Regions from separate parts of the Homo sapiens genome. Here region 2 is linked to region 1. Evidence: promoter capture Hi-C in 16 types of primary human blood cells and fetal thymus (Javierre and others, 2016). All regions are on one chromosome and are shown on one strand. The core of a region is centred on a gene start or on the middle of the fragment in contact, and the rest is flanking DNA. Distances in the headings are between cores, read along the strand shown. Region 1 holds the start of ZFAND6 (zinc finger AN1-type containing 6). Region 2 overlaps IL16 (interleukin 16).

What was found. Contacts are between HindIII fragments. The CHiCAGO score rates a contact against its expected background, and 5 or more counts as called.
Region 2: a fragment that was not itself captured here is called in contact with the fragment with the promoter of ZFAND6 in region 1 in 1 of 17 cell types (total CD4 T cells); the score reaches 5.0 in total CD4 T cells.

What each region holds. Positions count from the first base shown.
Region 1 is chr15:80,057,317-80,062,361 of GRCh38, reverse strand. ZFAND6 (zinc finger AN1-type containing 6) reads right to left here and starts at 2,686. Exons shown (of 7, transcript NM_019006.4): 1 at 2,553-2,686. RefSeq lists silencers at 2,114-2,983, 2,680-3,008. The HindIII fragment of the contact is 4,474 bases long and covers 146-4,619 here.
Region 2 is chr15:81,291,701-81,296,242 of GRCh38, reverse strand. It overlaps IL16 (interleukin 16), which reads right to left. Exons shown (of 19, transcript NM_172217.5): 12 at 3,206-3,687. Among named protein-coding and RNA genes, the nearest start is that of STARD5, 30 kb to the left of the region's middle. RefSeq lists enhancers at 1,912-1,971, 2,002-2,091, 2,271-2,789, 3,602-3,731. The HindIII fragment of the contact is 1,773 bases long and covers 2,121-3,893 here.

The sequences.
Region 1 (5,045 bases), core at 1,437-3,936:
CACAACTTTTCCAAAAATGTTCCAAAGGATACAAAATTTAATTCCACAGAATAACACCTTGGTCCTAATGCTTTCCCTTAAAGGGTGTGACATTTGACAGGTGTTTTCCTTAATTAAAGTCTGTGCAAAAGTGGAAGGATAAGCTTAGGACAAGTTTCTTTTACATGAGTATGCTAAGGCACAAGAGAAATTTTTAAGTAATTTGCTAGAGATTAGAGGGGAGGAGAGGAACAGCAGAAAGGATAATTTATTTTACATACAATCCAGCGTTTTTTCTACTATACTATTTTTGCATTGAAAAGGAGATACCAAACAGTGCCAGACTTTTTACAATGTGACTTCAAAGTAAGAGAGTCATTACACATAGGTTAACAGGAATTTTGGGTTTTCATGCAAATGTTCAACTAGGTTGAACTAGTTCAATCACTACGGCTATGAATCTTCTATTTAAACATAATAGAGAATCCTAATGTTTTTCATTCATCTTATTTCTAAGTAATTCAATCTATTCTAGTCCTGATTACCTAATACCGTCTAATGCAATCCACATTAAGTATTTACTCTAGAGAAATTCTTGTACTTGTGTACCAAGAGCCGGAAACAAGAAATGTTCACAGAGCAAGACTGCTTATAACAAAACAAAATAAAAAACAATAAAAACACGGTCGAAGTGCCCATAAGTTATGGCAGATTAACATATCATAAAGCAATGAAATAAACTACAGCCACATACTATTTTTATAAAGCTCAAAAGAAAAACAAATTAAATGCCACACAGTTTCGGCATACAAACATATATGATAAAACTATTTTTCAAAAAGTCAAGGAAGTGACATACACAAAATCCACTGCACAGATAAGAAACTCATAGACAAATGCAAGTTTTAGTAATGTTCCAGTTTTGGGTTTGGGGGGAGTCATCAAGGATTTATGATGTTTTTATCTGCTTATACTTTACCGTGTTTTTTTTTGGTAGTATTAAATATATTTTGGTTACTTCTTAAAAACGTTACTGACATATAGTTGACAATAAACTGCACATATTTGAAGTGTAAAACGTGTAAGTTCTGACATATGCATACACCCAAAAAGTTATCACTACAAGATAATAAATCCACCGACCCCTGTATTTTCTCCTGCACATTTGTGATGTCTCCCTTTAAACACATTTTAAAACGTAAAAAAGTAAAAATAAAAAAGACAACTTGTTTTGGAAAGCTAAACGTGCATATTTTGCAAAACATTTCCCCTAGGGCTCTGGAGAAACTATACACAACTCAGAAAGTGCCTTAAAATTGGTGACATGGTTACCGAACAACTAACCTTAAAAGTTTATGGTATTTTACACTTTTAAAAAATCAAATTCCGATTTCGGTTTGAAAGAGGAATTTAATCCTGTTTCTCGGAGCTTCAAAATCATTAATTCTGCCCGGCTTTTTTTTGAGACGGAGTCTCCCTCTGTCGCCAGGCTGGAGTGCAGTAGCGCGATCTTGGTTCACTGCAACCTCCGCCTCCCGGGTTCAAGCGATGCTCCTGCCTCAGCCTCCCAGTAGCTGGGACTACCGGCGCCCGCCACCACACCCAGCTAATTTTTGTATTTTTAGTAAAGACAGGGTTTCACCATGTTGGCCAGGATGGTCTCGATCTCCTGACCTCGTGATTAGTCCGCGTCGGCCTCCCAAAGTGCTGGGATTACAGGCGTTGAGTCACCGCGCGTGGCCAATTCTGCCCAGTTTTTATGGCCCAACAACTTAATATAAATTATCTTTAGGTAACCCCAAGGTCCTAACTTCCTCACAACTGGTTACAACTTCCGAGATGTGAAGGTAAATCATAGCGTCCCAACTGTGTAGGATAGTTAGCACGTGACTTAAAAACCAAGTTAAAAAGATTTCAAACACAATATTCTTTCATACTTTTTTAGGTAGCTAAAACTTAAATATAACTATTTCAAAAAAGCAGACAAAAAATTTAGAATCCTAAGCAAGCTAAACCCAAGCAGGAAAAAAAGAGACCAATTCCCTTCCCGGTGCCAGTCAGGAGTTGGAGACACCGGGCTGCCTCCGGCTGGTTTCTGAAAAACGCCGCAGGTGGAAAAACATCCCGAAGAGGACCTGAGACTCGGAGGAGGCGGGGAACTGACGCGCCCCAGTGTGCCCGGGGCCCTTCCGACCCCCGCCAGCCAACCGCTCGCAACCCGCTCGGGGCGGCGCGCGTCGCGGCCTCCGCGGCCCTGAAGAACTGAGGCTCCCGACCCCAGCGCGACCACCCTGACAGGAAGCGGCCCCCGGCCGCGGGCGCCCGCGCGCCGTCTGAGGTGAACCCGCCGATCTCCGGCCCCCACCCCCGGAGCCGGGAGTCCTCGCCCTCTCGCCCGCGGCCCCCGCGGGCCCACCACCTGCTGCGCCGGCCGGCCGCCCTCCGCTTCCGGCTCTCGGGCGCCGGGAGGGGCCGGGGGCGGGCCTCGCCTAGCTGCAGCCGGGTGGGGGAAGGGAGCAGGCGGGGGAGGGGCAGCGCCGGGCAAGCCGGGCCCCGCGGGCCGCGCTCCTCACCTGGCGGCGGGTCTCTCCGCCTGACACGCTGCGCGCCGCCGCCGGTAGCCGCCGGTGAATGGGTACAGGTAATGCCGCCGAACCCCTGCTTGCTCCGGCTCCGCCACCGCCGGCCCCTCCGTCCGCTGTTTATTAAACTTTTCTGTTTGGTTGTTCGGCCTATGACGCGACCGCGGAGGAGAGCCACTGGATTGGCCGGCTCCCGCGGCTGACGCGCGGGCCCCGCCCGCCCGCTAATTATTACCGGCGCGGGCGGGGCCGCAGGCCGGAGGAGGCGGGGAGAGGCGGGGTCAAGGCTCGGAGCGCACGGCAATTGGCCGGAGGCAGGAAAAGAGGCGGGGCGGAGCGAAAGGAGATGCTCCTCCGCCTTCTGCACCTCCAGTGTCCCTTGCTCCACTGCCCTCTCTGGGGCGCTTCCCGCCGCGGTTTCTCTACCTCCAATAGCTACGGGAAGGCGATTAAGAGGTGCCGCGGAGACTTTAAGGGCTTGGTTATGTAGGTTCAGGTACCTTTGCCACCTCGCAGGGAATGGCGTGTCCCTGTCTTGGACTGAGGCACCAAAAAGAGTTGCACTCCACCTGCCACTTGTGCAGGAAGGAATTCTGAGCTTCTGTCTTCCCATGCAGGCCGGCGCCTCAGTCTGCAAGCGCAAAGTCCGAGCTCAGGGCGCATACTGGAAAGCAGTTCTCTGCCCTGTCCTGAACTGGGACTTGGAAATAGAAGCAAGACGAGAAGCGTGCATGCACACGTGTGCAATACATACATGCACAGGCACAAGCACCCCCAGTTCCAGCCTGTTCCAAAAGCACGGGGTCAGTTCCCACCTGCGTGGTGCACGCTGGGCTGCTGCGCTGGAACTAGGGGTGATAGGCAGAATGGCTCCCCCTGAAGTTTTTCAGCCTTCGTTCGGGCTCACGAGCATCACGAGCAGGAAGTACGTGACACTTTAGTTCGAGGTCATTCAATCCTATTGTGAATGAGGAGTTCCGTTAGGGCATCCAGGTAGGCGAGCCCAGTCCTGAGAATCCTCTTTATTTTAAATGTTGGTATTTTGTTATTCATGGATTTTTTTTTTGCATTAATTTTAATTTTAAAAAATAAAAATGTTATTCATCTTGATCACTTAGTTTTTTGGTGCTCCCTTAAATGTTGTGCCTGAAGTGAGTACCTGTTGAGCATTTAGCAACACAGAAGTCACCTTGGGGAGTACAGTTTAAGTGGAGGACAAAAGCCTGATTGGAATGGTAATAAAACCTACTTGTTAGGCTATTTGTGGGGGTTAAATAACATAATATGTGTGAAAGAGCTTCTTGAACTAGCAAGGTTATGCGTCAAGTCTTACGGATTTTGTCTTAAATGTATTTTTCTTCCGATTCTTGTCCAGTTTATCGTTGTATTAACTCCAGCACCTAACCCAGTTGGATTTTCATATGCAGTTATTATGAATTTGCAGAAATTGGGTTTACATGACCTTTACTGCTTTCCTTTGTTCCAGATTCGTTCTGGGAGATTGAGAGATTATAGTATTGCATTGTGACGTGGAATGCAGACAGACCACTGTCACTTACTAGCTTTGTGCTCTTAAGAAAATTGTGTGAAATGGGAACGAAAACCTACCACAAAGGATTGTTATGAGGGTTAAAAGATACTGCATTTCTATTCACCCAGTAAATGCTATATGCCGACTCTCTGCCAGCCTGTGCTGTAGGTGCTGGAGACAGCATTAAGAAAGATGAAGGCCCTTCTCTCATTGACTTACACAGGGGAAGAGAGGGAGCAGAAACAATAAACAGTATACATACGCAACCTACCGGTCAGTGTACATAAACAACATATTCACAGCACCTGGTATGTAACAGATGCTCAATAAATGATTGTGTATGCATTATTATTTCCAGCCCCATCTTCTTTCCTGTGTTCCAGAGCAGGACATTCACTGTGTGCTTATCACAGCCATTCAATATGTCCAAGGCTTATTTTCCCCCAAACACATTCTTCCTCCTGTAGTCCCAATTTTGGCTAATGGTGACACCATGTTTCCAGTTATTAAAGCTAGAAACTCAAGCTTTATTGAGATTTAACACACATATCATTACAACTTACCCATTTTTAAAGAATACAATTTGCTGGGCGCGGTGACACATGCCGGTGGTCCCAGCTACTCAGGAGGGTGAGCTGGGAGAATTGCTCGAGTCCAGGAGTTCTGGGCAGTAGTGCACTGTACCCACTGGTGTCCACAGAGGGTGGGGGGCACCATCAAGTTGCCTAAGAAAGAGGACTCTGCCCAGGTCCAAAACAGAGCAGGTCAAAACTCCTGTGCTGATTAGTAATGGGATCATGGCCATTGCACTCCAGCCTGGGCAACATAGCAAGACTCTGTCTCCTATTAAAGAAAAAACAAAAAGAAAAATGAAAGAAATTATACAATTCAGTGGTTTTTAGTATATTCACAGTGGTGCAGTTATCACCACAAATCAGTTTCAGAACATTTTG
Region 2 (4,542 bases), core at 1,758-4,257, 1.2 Mb before region 1:
CACACAGTGTGCTTAAGGTACTGTCAGGGCCCAGAGGAAACAGAGAGACCAGTTCCATCCCAGAGGTGGAGAAGGCTTCCTAGAGAAGTACTTTCTGTCTGCTTCATAAACAGAGTAAGAATTTTGCAGGCAGAGAGGCAGAAAAATAGTGTTCCAGAGACATAGCCCAACCAAACATAATACCCATCTGGAAAAAAAGATTGAGAAAGCAGACATCATCAAAATGATGCCACCTGTATTTGATTGTCTGCAAGAGAAATGCTTTGCTATACTGCGGTGGCCTCCACGTCCGGTTCATTCCAGATTTGTGTAATGATGGGCCATTTGACATGGCTGCAGGCTTCCTTCCAGAGAGGAAGGAAAGAGGAAGGAACAAATGCATCCTTTGGGACTAAAAAAGCAATGGCAAATATCCATGACCTGAAATTTAAGATCTACATTGACAATAAACATTTTGGAGGAAGCAAAGGTCTACAAAAGTTAGAAGTGTATTCACAGAGCATTGCCTCAGCTCGAGTTCCCTACTGTAGAACTGAGCTTTAGGAGAGCATTATGAAATACTGAGAGATCAACCAATTTCAAAGGAATCATTGAGCTTCTCGAACTAGCCCTTAAAAAAAGTAAGGCTGAGTCATGGCATTAGAAGCTCCAAATATTGGCCTGATGATCTCTAAGTCTCTTGTCCACAAGAGAAATTACATGGGGATGAAATTTAATTTCACCTGGTTGGGAGCTCTGTAAGTTGACATCTGTTGACATTCATGAATTGTTAGCTCTTTTACAGGCAGCCACATGTGATACCAACTGCAGTCAATGCAGCTTTACAACTTAGAACAGCACAAATGTGTTTTGTCTTTTCATCAACACATCCAATATTGCATCCTCTTCATGGGAGACTTCAGAATTAGCCCCTGAAATAAATTTGATTTTACACAAATTTTTCTCTTACTAGTGTTTCCTGGAACCATGCTTGGTGGATGAGGGAGGGAGAAGAGAAAGAAGGAAAGAGGGAGAGAGCAGATTCAGCATAGTGGGGAGAAAGTACGTTTTTGTTTGGTTTTTTTGTTTGTTTTCTAAGAAAGGATTCTTCGAAAATCCTGTTGTGTTTTTTTAAGCAAGTTTTTTAAAGCACGGGGGAGAGTTTAGGCTGATTTTTTATAAGAGGGATGTTAGTTTTTTGTTGAAGAAAATATCCCAAAGTTCATATTGGTTGTGAGAGTTAAGTCCCCTTGAATTAGAGTAGATGGGAAAGACTTGGGGGTCATCCATAGCAGCTTGACAACAGTCTTGGGACCCTGTAGAGAAAAGACTGCAGGGAGGGAAAAGTGGGAGAGTGAGACAGTGGACACTGTGGCCACGGAAGAAAACATCCAGTGAGAAATCCCCAGGAATGGTCAAGGAAATTTTGAGAGTGACCTCAAGCAAATTGCTTCCTGTTTTCTATTGCGTGCTATGATCCTTTCTCTGTGACCCCCGCCTCTCCAGTGCCCAATAAAATTATGTCGTGCTGATTGCTTTTATGGAAATGTTTGTGGGAGAAGGATCTGCTGGCCACGTGGGACAGACCAGAGCAAACAGAGGAGGGCAGCTGCAGAACGGCCTTGTCTCCAGGAGACGGTGCTGTTGGGGGCAGGTACAGGAGGGAGCCCTGTATTCTGCTGAGGCACACAGGGCATGAAAGATGACCTGTGGGAAGTTCCTTGCCTGGGCTTCCCTGAGGACACCCCAGTTCCTTCTCCAGACGCCTTACTCGGGAATATTCCCTGACCCTATGTGGCTCTGCCAAGGGCATCACTGGGACAGACCTGCTGTGGCAACTGCACTCCTTTTCTGGGCCTCCAGGAGGAAGGCAAAATGACTGGCTTCTCAGCTGGCTGCTCCTGATTTGCCCTTCTGGACTCATAGGTCTCAGGCCCAAGGGAAAATGAAATATGGGCTTAAAAGAGGGGGTGGGAGAACAGATCCATCTGATAACTCCATCATGTGTTGCTAACCAGCCACATCCTGCCAGCGCTCTGCAAAACTGCACTTCCTTTTTAGTAACCTGGCTTCCTCCTCCCTCCTTCACTTTCACCCCTCCTACTCAACATCCCGTCTCCACCGCTACCCCTCCTGAAGCTTGCCAACCCTCACTGTAGATTGTTTTAGGGGATTTCCAGAGGCCCCCTCCCACCTGCCCACGGTGTGCTTAAGGGAAGGGCCAGGGCCCCTGCAGGGCCATTCCGTGATGGGGGAGACAGCTTCTGGGTAAGGATGGGAAACTCAGCATTGCATAGTGGGTAACTGTGACCCACTAGCAATGTGAACTTGAGCGAGTTTCTCAGTTCCCTCTTTGCACAACTGGGACTCTCACCATCAGGTGGTTGTAAGATTTAATTGACACAATGTACATGAAAGTACTCAGTGTGGTTAGCCTGCGCATAAAATGGTTCTAGACACAGCAGCTGTCTGTCAGTCAGTCTGCCTTTTATGCAAGGGGTGGAAAGGAGGGCTTTAAGGGGCCTGATGGGGAAAGATCATGGCAATGAATGCTAATATGCCTGAGATGCTGTCAGGTACTTGCCTTAAGTGGTTACCTTTAATCCTCACAATAGCCCTTGGAAGGAGCCACTCCTCCCGGGTTTAAGCAATTCCCTGCCTCAGCCTCCTGCGTAGCTGGGATTACAGGCACCTGCCACCATACCCGGCTAATTTTTGTATTGTTAGTAGAGACAGGGTTTCACCATCTTGGCCAGGCTGGTCTTGAACTCCTGAGCTCATGATCCACCCGGCTCAGCCTCCCAAAGTGCTGGGATTACAGGCATGAGCCACCGTGCCAGGCCCCTTTTTAGTTATTTAAGCCACTATTCTCCCTACAAGCAGGACACTCAAAGATCCACATGCAAAGACTGAGACCCTGCAGGGGCCCTGGTATTTTTCCTTCATGGTGAGTGAAAAATGACACAAGAAAGGAACCTTAAATTCCAGTGTGTTATGGGTGGGAACCCAGATGCCAGCAAGCAGGACTGGGACTTCAATTATCTGTCAACCTTCAAACCCATCTTTTCATGGTCAGTCCTCAGCTGAGTCCTAGGCAACAGTTTCTCTCTGGTGGAGCAGGAGAAACTTTCATTCTGGCCCTGCTAACACTAACTTGCTAATTTGCCCATGCTCAAGATTTGAGTCTGGTCCTGGAAACACTCAACCTGTGGACCCATCCTCTTACCTGGCCACAGGTGGGTGGGGTGTGCCCAGAAGAGCATGAGGAGTTCTCTCTCTCTTCCAGACTCTTCTGAGGGTCACTGTCACTTTTAAAGTATTTTCTGGGTGGAGGCTTGGGCTTGGAGGACATAGGCTTTCTCACCAAAATCTCAAAGGATTTCTTCAGTCTCAGCGGCGGGTGGCTGTCCCGGCTCTCTGGGAGGGGTGGGCTCTCCTGGGGCAGCCTGGAGGATGCTATAGAAAGCACCACTGGCTCCCGTGCCAGAGGCAAGCTGGGGCTGTGTGTGCTGATGTCCACGTCAGAGGACGGCTTCTCAGCACTGCCACTCCCAGGACTTCCCCCTGGGGACCCAGACATGTAGCTGCTGTCACTGCTGGAGCGGATCATGACCTTCTGAGCCCTGCGATGCGGGGGTGCTGAGTTCTTCTCTCGTTCCTTCTCCAAGGTGGGCCGCCCGTGCCAACTGCTTTCCAGCCTTTTGACACCTGTGTGGGAAGCACAAGAGAATCTTCACAGCTGAGCTTCAGAAAACAGAAATACCCCCTGGCCTCACCTGTGACTGCCACGGGCAGCACACTGCACATCGGCCATCTGCTTCTTATCTGAAGTCACTGTGGATCTGGAGTATGGCAGTCTTGGTGTTGGTCCCTGGCGAGCTGTATGACTTTGGGTTGGGAAAATCATTCAAGCTTTCTGAGCCTATGACTGATGTATATGGAGATATGCCACCCAGATCACCCATCGAGGAAGGGCTTGGTGTCCCAGCTGTGGGGAGTGCTGCTGGCAGACTACTTTCAGCTGTGGGTCCCTCCAGGGGCTGCCACAGCTGCAGACAGCTGCCTTGTCCAATGGGGCAGCCCATCTCCAGGGACTGCTGGAGATAGGGTTACAGAGGCCCAGCTATGTTGGCCAACATAGGACAACTCTAATGGGGACTTTGGCTGCAGAGCTCCAGGGCTTGGCTGAAGCTGTTGGGTGTGCACCTCAGCTCCGTCCTCCCTCTGTCTACCCTGCCTGCTCCCCTCCCTGCCACAGGTAGTGAACCCCAGGACACTGCCTGCAGACCAAACTCCATCTCAGAGTCAGCTTCCTGGGGGACCCAACTCCATTTCTGCATCTGTAAAATGAGGATGATAATTTTAAAGTCACTGGGGTTATTTTGAGGCTCAATAACAAAGACAGAGAAACTACCTGTCAAGGCACTTTGAATCTTACACGAAGAAGTCACTATTTCTTTCCAGTTGAGGGTGAGGTGAGGGCAGAAAGCCGCTATTTCTTAGCCACTGCACCTTCCTCCCTCCCTCCCCATTAGCCCTTCCTGGTTCTCAGTACCCCCTACC